2 separate regions of the Homo sapiens genome follow, and region 2 is linked to region 1. The links are contacts of gene promoters, found by promoter capture Hi-C in blood cells and fetal thymus (Javierre and others, 2016). All regions are on one chromosome and are shown on one strand. Each heading gives the region's core, a stretch centred on a gene start or on the middle of the fragment in contact. The rest is flanking DNA. Distances are from core to core; before and after follow the strand shown. Region 1 holds the start of NOP14 (NOP14 nucleolar protein). Region 2 overlaps TNIP2 (TNFAIP3 interacting protein 2).

The links. The method cuts DNA at HindIII sites, captures the fragments that hold promoters and counts their contacts. A CHiCAGO score of 5 or more calls a contact.
Region 2: a fragment that was not itself captured here is called in contact with the fragment with the promoter of NOP14 in region 1 in 2 of 17 cell types (naive B cells and non-activated CD4 T cells); the score reaches 5.3 in naive B cells.

What each region holds. Positions count from the first base shown.
Region 1 is chr4:2,960,164-2,967,520 of GRCh38, reverse strand. It overlaps NOP14 (NOP14 nucleolar protein), which reads left to right and starts at 4,115. Exons shown (of 18, transcript NM_001291978.2): 1 at 4,115-4,396. The coding sequence starts at 4,202. GRK4 (G protein-coupled receptor kinase 4) reads right to left here and starts at 3,950. Exons shown (of 16, transcript NM_182982.3): 1 at 3,399-3,950. The coding sequence starts at 3,450. RefSeq lists silencers at 3,278-3,327, 3,498-3,927 and enhancers at 3,390-3,923, 3,924-4,457, 5,488-5,557. The HindIII fragment of the contact is 6,609 bases long and covers 1-5,955 here.
Region 2 is chr4:2,745,904-2,753,260 of GRCh38, reverse strand. It overlaps TNIP2 (TNFAIP3 interacting protein 2), which reads left to right. Exons shown (of 6, transcript NM_024309.4): 2 at 5,316-5,606. Among named protein-coding and RNA genes, the nearest start is that of TNIP2, 6.8 kb to the left of the region's middle. RefSeq lists enhancers at 5,424-5,473, 6,884-7,323. The HindIII fragment of the contact is 3,160 bases long and covers 3,003-6,162 here.

The sequences.
Region 1 (7,357 bases), core at 2,866-5,365:
GCTGAGGCAGGAGAATCACTTGAACCCAGGCGGCAGAGGTTGCAGTGTGCTGAGATCATACCACTGCACTCCAGCCTGGGTGACAGAGTGAGACTCTGTCTCAAAACAAAACGAAACAAAATAAGACCAAACCAATATGATCATTTCACGCTTCCTTCATGTCCCTGGCAGAGTGACACACAAACACTTTCAGTGCAGCATCATCTGCCAACATTCCTGAAAGGAAAAGGCTCTAACAATCTTCTGTTTAGACCATCTTAGTCTGTTCAAGCTGCTCTAACAAAATACTATAAACTGAGTAGCTTATAAATTGCAGAAATGTATTTCTCACAGTTCTGGAAGCTAAAAAGTCCAAGATCAAGACAGATTTGGTGTCTGGTGAGGGCCCACTTTCTGATTCATAGCTGGCATCTTCTTTCTGTGTCCATGGTAGAAGGAGTGAGGGGTGTCTCTCTAGTTTCTTTTATAAAGGCACTAATACCATTCACGAGGGTTCCACTCTCATGACCCAATCACCTCCCAAATGCCCCACCTCCTAATTCCATCCCCTTCGTAGTGAAGATTTCAACATAAGAATTTTGGGGGAACACAAATATTCAGACCATAGCAGGGACCAGAGAGGGAGGGGGGATTGAGACTGACTGATTCTATTTGAAATAAATCCAGGAAATGACCGGACTCACTAATAATATTAAATCAACATTGCGCTTCTCAGGACCAGAATATAACTCTTGTGCTACGTTCATTCATTTCAAAGGTTAATTTTCTAGTATATGAGCCAGTGAAGCTAAACAAGGAGCTGTCCATGAAGTTATGTGTCCAAGAAGACACCTCCTGGTACTTCCTGGGAGATACTTTAAAGTAACAAACACAGTCATCAACTTGGGAAAAAGCCCTAAATTATAACCAATACTCAGCATGTATCCATGTATATCTAATATTATATATTCAACTTCTCTAACCATTAATCAAGCTATACATAATGATGCTTTCTGACCACAGGAGCAAATACTCTCACTCAATGGGGACAGGCCTCATAATCACACTACTGTGGAGTTAATATGAGATATTTCAGGGAAAAAATTAAAACTTTCTTTTTTTTTTTTTTCGAGACGGAGTCTCGCTCTGTCACCCAGGCTGGAGTGCCGTGGCGCGATCTCGGCTCACTGCAAGCTCTGCCTCCAGGGTTCACGCCATTCTCCTGCCTCAGCCTCCCATGTAGCTGGGACTACAGGCGCCCGCCACCACGCCCGGCTAATTTTTGTATTTTTAGTAGAGACGGGGTTTCACCATGTTAGCCAGGATGGTCTCAATCTCCTGACCTTGTGATCCGCCCGCCTCGGCCTCCAAAAGTGCTGGGATTACAGCTGTGAGCCACCGTGCCCGGCCAAAACTTTCATTTTTCAAACTATCACTGTGGTCTTAGGTTTTGTGACAGAATCTGGTTTTATGTTATTTAGCATTTATAGAGCACTTGTATTTATCTCATTATCTAATCTCTGCAGCATTATAAGGAAGGCGGCTTGGTATAGTTCCTTTTTGTAAATTACATGCAGATAGGAAGGTAGTGTAAAAAGAAAACTGGCTTAGCTTCAATCTGACTTCCACTAAGGATGATTATTTTCCATGACCTATTTGGAGTTCACAGTCAGGGATAAGAGGCACAGTCAAATGCTCCACTGAAAATGGCTGCTGAGAACGCATACTGCTCTGGGACTCCCTGATTATCTTAAGGGAAAAAGATCCCATTCTCTTCCCACCCATTCTCAGTTCTTCTATTCAAAATAGTGTGAGTTGGTGCACAAAAATACTGAGAAGATGAAGTCTTTGTTTTAGACTTTTTTAAAGAGATGGTCTTGCTGTGTTTTGCCCAGGCTGGACTCTCCTGGGCCCAAGTGAGCCTTCCACCTCAGCTTCCAGAGTAGCTGGGACTACAAGCGTGGCCGCCACCTTCGGCTCCAGACTGTCCTTTAAATATGCATCGCCGGCTGCTGTGGCATCTTCAGTCGGCATTTACACTGTCCTGGAGCACAGTCCGAGCAGAGCTGCTCCATCACGCAAGGAAATAGAGGAAATCAGCAATTCCGTAAGAGTGACGGGGTGTGAAGAACTACCGTGGCTAGCACAGGGACTTGAGGTCCGAGGCTCTGTCGCCAGCTCTCTTGAGACGCAGGCAAGGGAGACATGAGGTCCGAGACAGAGGATTGCACAGAGGATTGTGGGGGTCTCCCGCTGAAGGGCTGGACCAACTGATGCTTTTGTGGCGGGATGCAGAGGACTAGAGAGACCAGCATGGGTGAAAACAGGAGGATATTTATGTTAAGGTACGCACCAGCTCAGTGGATTCACATCCAAAAAGCTGAGCCTTGAACAAAGACTAAGCAGGATTTTTATAAGCAAACTTACAGAAGCAAAACAAAGGCAGTTAATCATATAATGACAGGTCACATAATCTATAGCATAACTGATGACTTGGCATAACTTGTGGCCTTGCATAGCTGGTGGCCTTGTAGCTGCGTTGAAAGAAAAAACCAAGAACTGGCTAAACACAGATATTTGTCCTCTTTTTTTTTTTTCTTCACCCCTGCTCTGGAAGGGGGGTGTCTGGAGCCTATTCCTTTGGATTCGACTTCTCAAACAGAACAGCGTTATCTTATAACTGTCCTTAAAGTGAGCTTGCTAAGCAAAAGAAAACTTGTTCTTCTTTTCTTTTTAACCCTTGCCTTGCCACATTCTGGGCCTTGGCTTTTTCTTTTCTTGGAGTGAATGAATGCAGTACTTATTACTATTTTTAAATTTCTGCCTCACTTTAATAATGATAAAAGGCTGAATTTTTGCCAACTTGTCCATCTGTGACCACGTCGTGCTAAAGCACACTTGACACACCATAGAGCCTCAGATCAAACCTCAAAACCAAGCAGCTATGTTAAAAATAACATTGCCCTACAATCATTATCGGAAGGTTCTCGCCCAGAGTAGTTCCCAGGCTGCTATTCTTTGTCCCCCTTAAGACCATAAAGACGCCGTTCTTTTTTGGTGGGACAGGTTGTCCAACACAAGCAGGACACTGCCTGCCGCATCCTGAAGCAACACTGTCACCGAGGTCACACCGAGAGGACAGGACAAGGACACAGGGCAAGACTAAGAAGAGCAAAGCGCAGACTTCTCTCATCTGGGCCAGGAGATGGGGACTGGGACCTGGCCCGGGCAGCCTGACCACACTGCACAGACCCCGGCTCCGGCTCCGTGCAGATCTGGGTTCCCCCAGTGGGAGGTGTCGGGGCTCTCCAGGGAAATCGGGGTTCTCCGGGGATGTCGGGTTCCTTCAGGGGGGCCAGGGTTCCCCGGGATTCGGGGTTCTCTGGGGGGGGGGTCGGGGGCGCCTGCCGCGCACCCACCTTGACGCGCTTTCAGCAGCAGCGAGTTGGCCACGATGTTCTCGAGCTCCATGTCCTGGCGCCGCCGCCGCCGGCGGATTCTGCGAGACCGAGGAGACTGAGGAGGCGGAACAGGAGGAGACGCCGCCGCCCCCGTGCATAGCTCGCCGGGCACCACCCTCTCCTCGAGCTCCGGACACGATCCCGGGAGGCTGCTCCGCCGCCACCACTGCCACCAAGGGCGCCGCCGCCGCCGCCTCCGCAGGCCCTCACCAGCAGGGGAGCGGTCGGGGCGAGGGGAGGGGGCAGCCCGACCGCGGCGGGTCCCAGCTGTCACCGCTGCCGCGCTATCGCCCCGGTTCTTCTTGGCCCCATCGCCCTCGCCTCGCGCGCGCAACTCCCTCCTCAGTGCCCTGCCCCCGGGCAGCCCCGAGTCAATGCCGTGGCTCACTTCGGACAGGGGCTCACTGGCAGGGGCGCCCGCCGCGGCCGGCGACCCGCTCCCGGGCGGGCTCGGCGCTAACGGCTTAGCTGAAGAGGGAGCGCCCCTCGCCGCCGCGGCCGGGGCACTACAGCTCCCAGAAGGCCCTGCGCCAAGAGTACACGGCGGGCCGCGGCGCGTGGCCTGCTGGGAGTTGTAGTCGCTGAGCCTATCGGCGAGTAAGCCGAGCCTGCGGGCGCGGTGTTTACTTCTCGCGAGTCGGAGGTGCTGCGCTGTTCTCGCGAGACGAGGAAGCGGTTCCGCGGCCCGGCACGTGTCTTAGGGTAGCGCGCGCCTGTCTCTCTTCGGGTCTCGGGCCCTTGGGCGCAGCGGGGCGCGCGCCATGGCGAAGGCGAAGAAGGTCGGGGCGCGAAGGAAGGCCTCCGGGGCGCCGGCGGGAGCGCGAGGGGGCCCGGCGAAGGCCAACTCCAATCCGTTCGAGGTGAAAGTTAACAGGCAGAAGTTCCAGATCCTGGGCCGGAAGACGCGCCACGACGTGGGACTGCCCGGGGTGTCTCGCGCACGGGCCCTCAGGAAGGTAAGCGGGGGGCGCACGGGGAGCCGGAAGGCAGGATCTGGACCCCACGCTGCTCTCGGCCGGCTGCGTCCTTCTCGGTGCGTCGGTTTCCTCGTTGAGCGGCACAGGCCGTGACAGGCACACGGCACTGACTTGATAGTCCGAAAGCCTCTGCTGTTCTCTGAGCTGGAGTGACCTGGAAACTCTCGCCGTCTTGGAGACCCTGCACTCGTGTTATTTCGGCGACTCCTCCAACCGGGTCAGGCCGAGTCAGTCACTTCGGGCGGCGCCCTGGACCAAGCTGCTTGTTAACCCTTCCGCGTTTACTTTGAGCTCTGCAGGTTTGGGGACGGTGGATAGGGGCTGTGTAGGATGCTGCGTTTGATGTTTCATCGGCTCTCTCCCGAAGCGCGTAACCTTGTTCCTTGGGAAGTAACTCTATGGAAACTCATTGCTTCCTAGTTTTTTTAACTTTTTTTTTTTTAAATTTTCACTGAGGAACATACATTAGCAGGTTGGTGAAAAAATTAAGGCACAGAAAGGACAAGTGCATTTCCTAAGGTCACGCACCTGGTAAGGGCTGGGCATGCATTCACATTTCAATATCTACAAAGCCTTCTTGCTACCCCGAGCGCTTCTGTTTGACCTCGCTTCTAGGTTCGGGGAGATAAAGGTAAATAAGACTTGCCCTTGCCTTCATGAGCTCCTGATCTCTGTTCATCACAGTGTGCAAGCTGGATGGTCTTTGAATCAAAACACATATTATCCTTACTGCGCGAAGACGACAGCCTGTATAATGAATAGGCAAGATAGACTTACAGCTGACTTCGATAGGAGTCCCTCATTACACACCCCCGGGCCGGGGTGGGAGAATAAGGTAGTGTGGTTCCCTAGAAGAGACACATTTGTCTTCACCACTGAAGCCTCAGTTTTCTCATTTCAAAAGTAGAGATGATAGTATACATCCTACCCCTCGTGGTGGTTTGTGAGAATTAAGTAAGATAGCACATAGAGCACACAGCAAGTGTTCTCTAAATACTGTTATTCTTAACCTTCTTGGCTTGTCGTTCGAGTCCCGCACAGTCTGGCTGTTGTCCTTGCTTCGCCTCTTGCAACTCAGTTTGTCCAAAAGGTCTGCCTTACCTCCGAAAGTCTCTAAAGGGCCAGCTCAGGTTCACCACCCAAGCTATGTAACCCAAATAGGACAGGTTGCTCAAACTTCTGGTATTGAGCAGATCCACCTCCCTGCCCTGTGCTGAAGGCCTGGGACGGGGACGGGAATTGCTGCTCCTTTTTGGATCTCCAATGCTTGGCCCTTGGAAGAAACACAAATATTTGAAGAAATCAAAGATGGAACCTGAGTGCCTTAGGAGATCCCGGTCAGGAAAAAGTGTAATAGTTAGGAAAGTCCAAAAATTCTTCTAGAGGGAGTTACAGTCAAGTTTTGCAAGGGGAGTGAGCTGTTCATGGGCCCAGGGTGGGCAGAGGACACACATGCAAAGGCACATTGTCCCGGTATGGTGAAGTGTGGCACTCACAGCTGTCTGAGGGACAGCAGGTCGTCCAGTTGACTCCAAGCTTGATAACGCGTGTAGGGGCCGTGAGGCCGGCGCAGGAGGCCTGGGTCTTTTCATGTGGGTTAGTCCCTTAGAAGTAAACAGGCTGCCTCAGTTGGCTTCTCCCCTCTGGTCAGTTGTAGCACTCTGAGGCACTCAGTCTGGCAGGAAGAGGGCAGCCCCCAGGTGCCAGTCTCAGGACATTGCTTTATAGCTGTGCCTCAGTTTCCTTATTTCTGAAATAATTTATAAAATAAGTTATATTAATGTAGTTCTTAAATCAGTAACTATATTAATATAGTTACTATATATTAATATACTAACTATATTATTAATATAGTTACTATATATTAATATACTAACAATATTAATATATTAATATATTATTATAATATTAGCATATTAATATATTATTGTAATAGCATATTAATATATTATTATATTAGTATATTAATATATTATTATAATATTAATATATTATTAAAATATTAATATATTATTATAATATTAATATAGTATTAATATAATATTGATGTAGTATTAATATAATATTGATATAATATTAATATAATAATATTGATATAATATTAAAATAATATCGATATAATATTAATATAATATTGATATAATATTAATATAATAATATTGATATAATATTAAAATAATATCGATATAATATTAATATAATATTGATATAATAATATAATAATAATGTAATTATAATATTAATATATTGATAATGTGATTATAATATTAATATATTGATAATGTGATTATAATATTAATATATTAATATTAATGTGATTATAATATTAATATATTAATATTAATGTGATTATAATATTAATATATTAATATTAATGTGATTATAATATTAATATATTAATATTAATGTGATTATAATATTAATATAATATTAATATAATAATATATAGTAACTATATTAATAATATAGTTACTGGTCCCTTACAGTTGGTCAGGCCTTGTGCCACACGGTTTACATTTAATCCTCACCGTTATGAGGGGGAAGTACTGTTATCCCCATTTTATGCCGTAAATTCCATATGATGTCACAACATCTATATAGTTTAAGAAAGAAAGAGAATCACAATAATGTAGAATAACTCATATTACGTATTTATAGCCTAAGGGCTGTTCTTCACTAAGATTTACCCATAGAATCATATTCCAGATAATGAGAACTAATATTTTTAGAGGCAGAGATGGCTGATGCCTGCCCCATCTACCCCCTTCCTGCTAGAAGCCAGTGACACTCCCTCCCTCTGCAGGGACAGACCTCAGAAGTCTTCTCGGTGTATGCTGGGTTTGGTGGCTCACACCTGTGATCCTAGCACTTTGGGAGGCCGAGGCAGGCAGATTGCCTGAGCTCAGGAGTTCGAAACCAGCCTGGGCAACACGGTGAAAC
Region 2 (7,357 bases), core at 3,333-5,832, 210 kb after region 1:
TGCTGTGTCGCCCAGGCTGGTCTAGAACTCCTTTCTTCAAGTGATCCTCCTGCCTTGGCCTCCCAAAGTGCTAGGATTACAGGCATGAGCCACCACGCCCAGCATGGGGGGATTTTTAATTATTTAAGGAACATTTTAATGATTTAGTTTTGTTTGTTTGTTTTTTTATTTTTATTTTTATTTTTTTAGAGACAGGGTCTTGGTCTGTGACACTGCCACCTAGGCTGGAATGCCTTGGGGCCATCATAGCTCACTGTAACCTTGAACTCCTGGGCTCAACCAGCCCTCCCATCACAGCCTCCCGAGTGTCTAGGACTATAGGCGAAGAGCCTACCACAAGGACTATGAGCCACCACACCTGGCTAACTTCTTAAGTTTTTGTAGAGAAGGGGTCGCATGATGTTGCCCAAGCTGGTCTCAAACTCCTGGCCTCCAGGGATCCTCCTGTCTCGGCCTCTCAAAGTGCTGGTATTACAGGCGTGAGCCACTGTGCTGGCCTTATCTGGTATTTTATGCAATTACATATTTATTGCTCATCCCAACGTTCAATCTGAGGTCGGTCATGGAACCTGTGGAAGAATGGAGAGGTTTGTCACCTCCTGCAGGCCCTGGGTTCACTGAGGTGGCAGTGCAGAGTTAAAGACACAGCAGGAAGCAAGCCGTTGCTAGGTTGCTCTCATCTATGAGAGCCCGTTAGGAGCAGGAACCCTGGACCAGTAGGGACTGAGGGCTCCCAGAGAGAGTGCTGAGGCTCAGAATGTGGAGGAGCTGACCAGTGCGTCTGTGATCAAGCTGCGGTCAGTGTGTGATGGGGCAAGATCAGGCCAGAGAATTGTGGTCCTCAGTGCAGCCACAGCTGGACTTGAGACCTTACCTCATCTGTAACACAAGGCCTGAGTGGATAACTTTACAAAGCCCCTCCAGTTAATACTTTCTGGAATAATGGCACCAATTCATTGTGCAACCTGGTCCTGCCCAACCCCATCCTGTCACCATTCTCGGGACCAGCTTCATAGGCTTTGCCTGGTCCTGGCGTATCAGCCCCCTTTCCCTTCCGGCTTAGCTTAGCTTTGCTTTGCTTGTTTTCTTGGCTCTTTCTTTTCTTTTCTCTTCTCTTCTTTTCTTTCTTTCCTTCCTTGTTCCTTTTTTTTTTTTTTTAAACTGAGTCTTGCTCTGTCGCCAGGCTGGAGTGCAGTGGCGGGATCTTGGCTCAGTGCAACCTCCACCTCCCGGGTTCAAGCGATTCTCCTGCCTCAGCCTCCTGGGTAGCTGGGACTACAGGCGCCCACCAGCACGCCTGGCTAATTTTTTGTATCTTTAGTAGAGGCGGGGTTTCACCATGTTGGCCAGGCTGGTCTTGAACTCCTGACCTCGTGATCCACCCACCTCAGCCTCCCAAAGTGCTGGGATTGCAGGCATGAGCCACCGCCCCGGGCCACCTTCCTTGTTCCTTTCTTTCTTCCTTTCTCCTCCCCTCCCCTCCCCTCTTTTTGACAGGGTCACTCTGTTGCCCAGGCTGGAGTGCAGTAGCATGATCATAGCTCACTGCAGCCTTGACCTCCTGGGCTTAAGTGATCCTCCTGTCTCAGCCTCCCGAGTAGCTGGGACTACAAACGCCCACCACCATGCCTGGCTAATGTTTTTTGTATTTTTTGTAGAGACAAGGTCTCGCCATGTTGCCCAGGCTAGTCCCAACCCTTGGGCTCAAGTGATCCTCCCACCTCGGCCTCCCAAAGTGCTGGGATTACAGGCTTTGGGAGAATACACTTCTGTTGTTTAAGACACCAAGTTTGTGATACTTTGTTGCCGCAGCGCTAAAAGCCAAGAGGCCACTGTGCCTCTTAAGGCCAATCCACAAGACTATTAATAGAGCTGTTTACACTTTTGTGTTCTGAGCGTGGAGCTATGGAGTTGTGGGTCCCGGCGACAGGCTTTCCTGAGAGATGTCAGCCCAGTTGCTGACTAGTCTGTGTGTTGTGCCTGTGTGTGTAGACCCACAACTCCAGCTCGTACCTTGTTTTCTGACCACAGTGGTCGAGGTGCTGTTGTGTCCTAAGAACTGTTACTAACTGGACAAGGCACTCAGACAGATAAACCAGCACAAAGCTCTGCAACTTCAGAGCCAGTGACAAATGCCAGAAGCCCGGGGGCTGGAGGGGTCCTGGGGCCCTCATGCTGCCGAGGGGAGGATGAGTGGGGCAGCCCTTTGCAGGGCTGGCCTGCCCCCACGGGTTGAGCGTAGAGCCTGCGTCCTGATCTGTCTCTGTATGGCCCAGTCTTATTCCCATTTACTGGGCATCTGTGTGGGGCTGGGCTCAGTGTTGAGTACTAGGGTGTGGAGGCAAGAGAGAGCCACGCCCTCAGGATCTACGAGCTGTGGACATGCTGCCCTCCTGTTTGTGGAGCTGTTTGTTTCTCCTACTGTCAGCATTTGACCAACGCAGGAAGGAGGCTCCGAAATCAGATTTTACCTGGGCACGGTGACCCCTGCTGAGGCAGGAGGAGGATTGCTTGAGGCCAGGAGTTCAAGACCAGCCTAGGCAACATAGCCACACCCTGTCTTTATCAAAAAAAAAAAAAACCAGAAGTCAGGTTTTGCTCAAAGTCCTTTATCCCTGAAGAGGGTCTCACTGTCACCCAGGCTAGAGTGCAGTGGCACCGTCACAGCACACTGCAGCCTTGACCTCGAGCCCATGGTCCCAGCTATTTGGGAGGTTGAGACGGGAGGAACACTTGGACCCAGGAGTTCAAGGCTTCGGTGAGCTGTGATTATACCACTGTATTGCAGCCTCGGTGTCAGGGCGAGACCCTGTCTCTAAAATAATAAAATAATAATAATAATAATAATAATAATAATAATAATCAGGGTTCTCGCAGTAATAGGGCTTAGTATTTTGTTCCATTGTGATGAGAACATTCTAGGTTCCCGGTCTCTGTCCCTTCTTACCTCAAGTACTAGACACAGAGGCTGGACCCTTCTCCCGCCACTTCTGGGGGAAGCTTGGGCTCCTCCGTGACTTTTCTGAAACTGTTTCTTCACTTGTGGGATGGACTAGTTGAGCCTGCTTCACCTCCTTCATGTAATGTACTGTTTATTTTGGAGGATTCTTTGAAAACGGAAAAGTACAAATTTAAGGCCAGATATTAAAAAATTGTCAGGTCAGATGTGGTGGCTCGTGCCTATAATCCCAGCACTTTGGGAGGCTGAGGCAGGCGGATCACTCAAGTCCAGGACCAGACTGGGCAAAGTGGTGAAACCTTGTCTCTGCAAAAAATACAGAAATTAGCCAGGTACGGTGGCATGCACTTGTAATCCAACTACTTAGGGTGCTGAGGCAAGAGGATCACTTGAGTCTGGGAGGTGGAGGCTACAGTGAACCATGGTGGCACCACTGTACTCCAGCCTGGGTGACAGGGCGAGACCCTATCTCAAAATAAAATTGTCATTTTAAGAACCTTTTTAAATTCTTTAAGAAGTAATTGGGGTTGGGTGTGTTAATTTCCTAGAGCTGCTGTAACAAAGTAACACAAACTGGGGGGCTTCAAGCAACAGAAATTTAATCTTTCACAGTTCTAGAGGCCAGAAGCCAGAAACCAAGGCATCGGCTCTCTCTCAAGGTTCTAGGGAAGGACCCTTCCTCGCCTCTTCAGCTTCCTGTGGGGGCCACCAATCCTTGGTGTTCCTTGGCCTTTATCCACAAGACAAGACGTCACTCCTATCTTTGTTGTCACGTGGTCGTCTTCTCTCTGTGTGTCTGTCCAGACTTCTGTCTGCTTACAAGGACACCAGTCCCGTCCTAATCCATTTTGTCCCCACCTTAACTAATTACATCTGCAAAGACCCTATCTCTAAGTAAGGTTTCATTCCCAGATACCGGGGAATGGGAGGTTTGGTTGTGGACATCTTTTTGGGGTTACCCACCACAGTGGAGTTTCTACCTATCCCATCAAAAAAGTGCTTGGAATTGCCACTTTGATAATTTGATGATAACTGGGTGTGGTGGCTTGAGCCTGTAGTCCCAGCTATTCAGGAGGCTGAGGTGGGAGGATTTGCTTGAGCCTAGGAGTTTAAGACCAGCTTGGGCTATATATAGCGAAACCCTCATCTCAAAAAAACATTTTGATGATATGAAATCTAAAATTATGAACTTGCTTGTGAAAATAGAATTTGGCAGGGCGTGGTGGCTCACACCTGTCATCCCAGCACTTTGGGAAGCCAAGGCGGGTGGATCTCTTGAGCCCAGGAGTTCAAGACCAGCCTGAGCATCACAGCAAAACCCTGTCTCTACAAAATACAAAAAAGTTAACCAGGCACGGTGGCACGTGCCTGTAGTCCCAGCTACTCAGGTTAGGATGGAGAATCGCTTGGGCCTGGGGAGGTCGAGGCTGCAGTGAGCCATGATTGTGCCACTGCACTCTAGCCTGGGTGACAGTGAGACCCTGCCTCAAAAAAAAAAAAAAAAAAATTGCTGGGCGCAGTGGCTCACGCCTATAATCCCAGTACTTTGGGAGGCCAAGGCTGGCGGATCATCTAAGGTCAGGAATTCGAGATTAGCCTGGCCAACATGGTGAAACCCCGTCTCTACTAAAAATATAAAAATTGGGCCAGGCGTGGTGGCTCACGCCTGTAATCCCAGCACTTTGGGAGGCTGAGGTGGGCGGATGCCGAGGTAGGCGGATCATGAGGTCAGGAGATCGAGACCATCCTGGCTAACATGGTGAAACCCCATCTCTACTAAAAATACAAAAAATTAGCTGGGCGTGGTGGCGTGTGCCTGTAGTCCCAGCTACTCGGAAGGCTGAGGCAGGAGAATGGTGTGAACCTCTGAGGCGGAGCTTGCAGTGAGCTGAGATCGCTCCACTGCACTCGAGCCTGAGCGACAGAGCGAGACTCCGTCTCAAAAAAAAAAAAAATTCTTTTAGCTGGGCTTGGTGGTGGGCTCTATAATCCCAGCTACTGAGGAGGCTGAGGTGGGAGAATCGCTTGAACCTGGGAGGTGGAGGTTGCAGCGAGCCAAGATTGTGCCATTGCACTCCAGCCTGGGCAACAGAGTGAAACTCTGTCTCAAAAAAAAAAAAAATTTGAGATGAAGTTTCAGAACAGAACATTGTAGGCTGAAAAACTCCAGAGTTAATAGTTCAAATGCCCAACTTCTGAGTGAGTAATTGTTAGTTCAAACGCCCAACTTCTGAGTGAGTATGTTTGTGTCTGGTGATGGGGCATCCACGCCAGGTCTTCTTTTGCTTTCTGAACATTTGCTCTTGACACTGCTTCTTTTAATTCAGTAAACTGTGCTTTTAAATCTTCCACTTAGGAAATTGAGAGGCTGACTGAGCGACTAGAAGAAAAAGAGAGGGAGATGCAGCAGCTGCTGAGCCAGCCCCAACACGAGCGAGAGAAGGAAGTCGTCCTGCTACGGAGGAGCATGGCAGAAGGGGAGCGCGCCCGGGCCGCCAGTGACGTCCTGTGCCGCTCCTTGGCCAACGAGACCCATCAGCTGCGGAGGACGCTGACCGCCACCGCCCACATGTGTCAGCATCTGGCCAAGTGTCTGGATGAACGACAGCATGCACAAAGGAATGTGGGGGAGAGAAGTCCTGACCAGGTAGGCCACAGTGTAAGCAGAGTGTGGGGAAGACCTCTGTGTGCTGGGAGCATCGCCTACAGGCCCCTGATCACAGAGGTGGGGGGGCGCCCCAGAACCCACTTCTGTTCTCAGTAACGAGAGTCAGCTGACGGGGCAAAGCTCACTCATCCAAGGGTTTCTTTTAAAATGATGGAACATGCAAAATGTAATAGGAAAGCAGGCAGCCACCTCACTGCCCAGCACCAGGCCTGTGGCCGACCCCGCTCCCAGGTGGGAGATGGCACTTGGCTTTCATCTGCCTCAGCTGAGGATGAGGAGGAGGAGCTGAGCCTGGCAGAGCTGCCTGGAGGAAGTGTAGTCACATCCTCCATCCGAGGAAACTGAAGCAGAGCCAGGTGGTACTGCTGGGGATGGGGAGTGCCTCCAGTTCCACACCCCAAACTCCTGGAAGGACCGTGAGTGCCCGCCTTCTTCAGGCTCAGTGTGTCTGAGTGCATGCAGGCACAGCTGGAACCGCCATCTCCAAAGCTGGCTTTAGGCATGTCCTTGCCAGCAGCACGGCCTCCCGCAAGCTTGGAGACCTGGCTCAGGGCCACAGCCTCCTCATCATCAAAGCAAGGGCCGGGGGCAGCGGCACCAAGTGACAGTGAGGGCCAAAGAAGGGTTCGCTGGACCTCCAGGATAGGCTGGATCTGGGCTGTAGCTCTCTGTGGGGTCTAGTGGGAGAGAGAAGGACCGTGGGAGTTTCAGCATCAGGAGAAACCAGGGGGCTCCTAGGCAGAAAAGTAGGGGAGCAGTGGCCCAAGGCATCTGTGTGCCAGGCACCTTCCATCTTGCTGGTGCTTGTGGTGGTCTGTGTGTGGCAGGCAGGGGAATGGAGGCACTCCGTGCACATCTCACCTAGGCTGAGACCCCATCTCACTCGCACTGCCGGGCACAGGGCCTCTCGCTCGGGTCCTTTCTAGGCAGTTCTCTGAGGCAGCACCAAGGTTCATGCAGAAACACACGCGCTGGGATGTTCTGTGGCAGACAGTACATCCCGCACCCATCAGCAGCTTCACCGAGGCGCCCACTGGGGAGAAGGTTGGTCTGAGAACTGCCCACCTCAGCTGGGTGGATTCCAGGCGGGGAACCTCAGAGAGGACACAGCTGCATTCAGAAACCAGAGGAAAAGTGCCGTCTGGGCGGAGGCAGGGTGTTCTGGTCTGATTTTGAGTCACTGTGTCATTTCCCTCTGGGGATTTGAAAGGAGCCACACACAGTGTTGAGCCTGAGGCGGGGGTGGGGCCAGTGGCAGGGTAGGCCCTCATCACAGTCTCTAAATAAGTGTCACTTCTCAGCCCTGAACTCAGCTGAGTCACCCGGGGCTTCCCGGTGTAGGCTGTGTTAGGACGTGCACTTCCTTTGTCATTTGAGGGGAATTCTCAAAAATTATGTCACTGAGATACAGTCAGAATTGTAGGGTACACACGAGTTTCAGGAGACTTTTCATTCAGCTCTGTAGTTGTTAGTGGGGGTTGGTTTGGGTTGTGGCTTCGGTGACTCCTGACCCTGCGTGGGGCAGAGGTTAGATTCCTGTGTCCAGAATCACCTGGTTGAACCCGATTGTCTGCAGACAGGACAGTGTCATGGGCTCCAAAGGAGGTAAGCAGGGTGCATGGCCAGGCCCACCCTGGGCAGCTGGGGGCCCCCTCACTGGAGATCCTCTGGTTTACAATGGGATTCAGCTTCCTGCCTTCCCTGCTGTCTGTGATAATGGCAAATCTCTG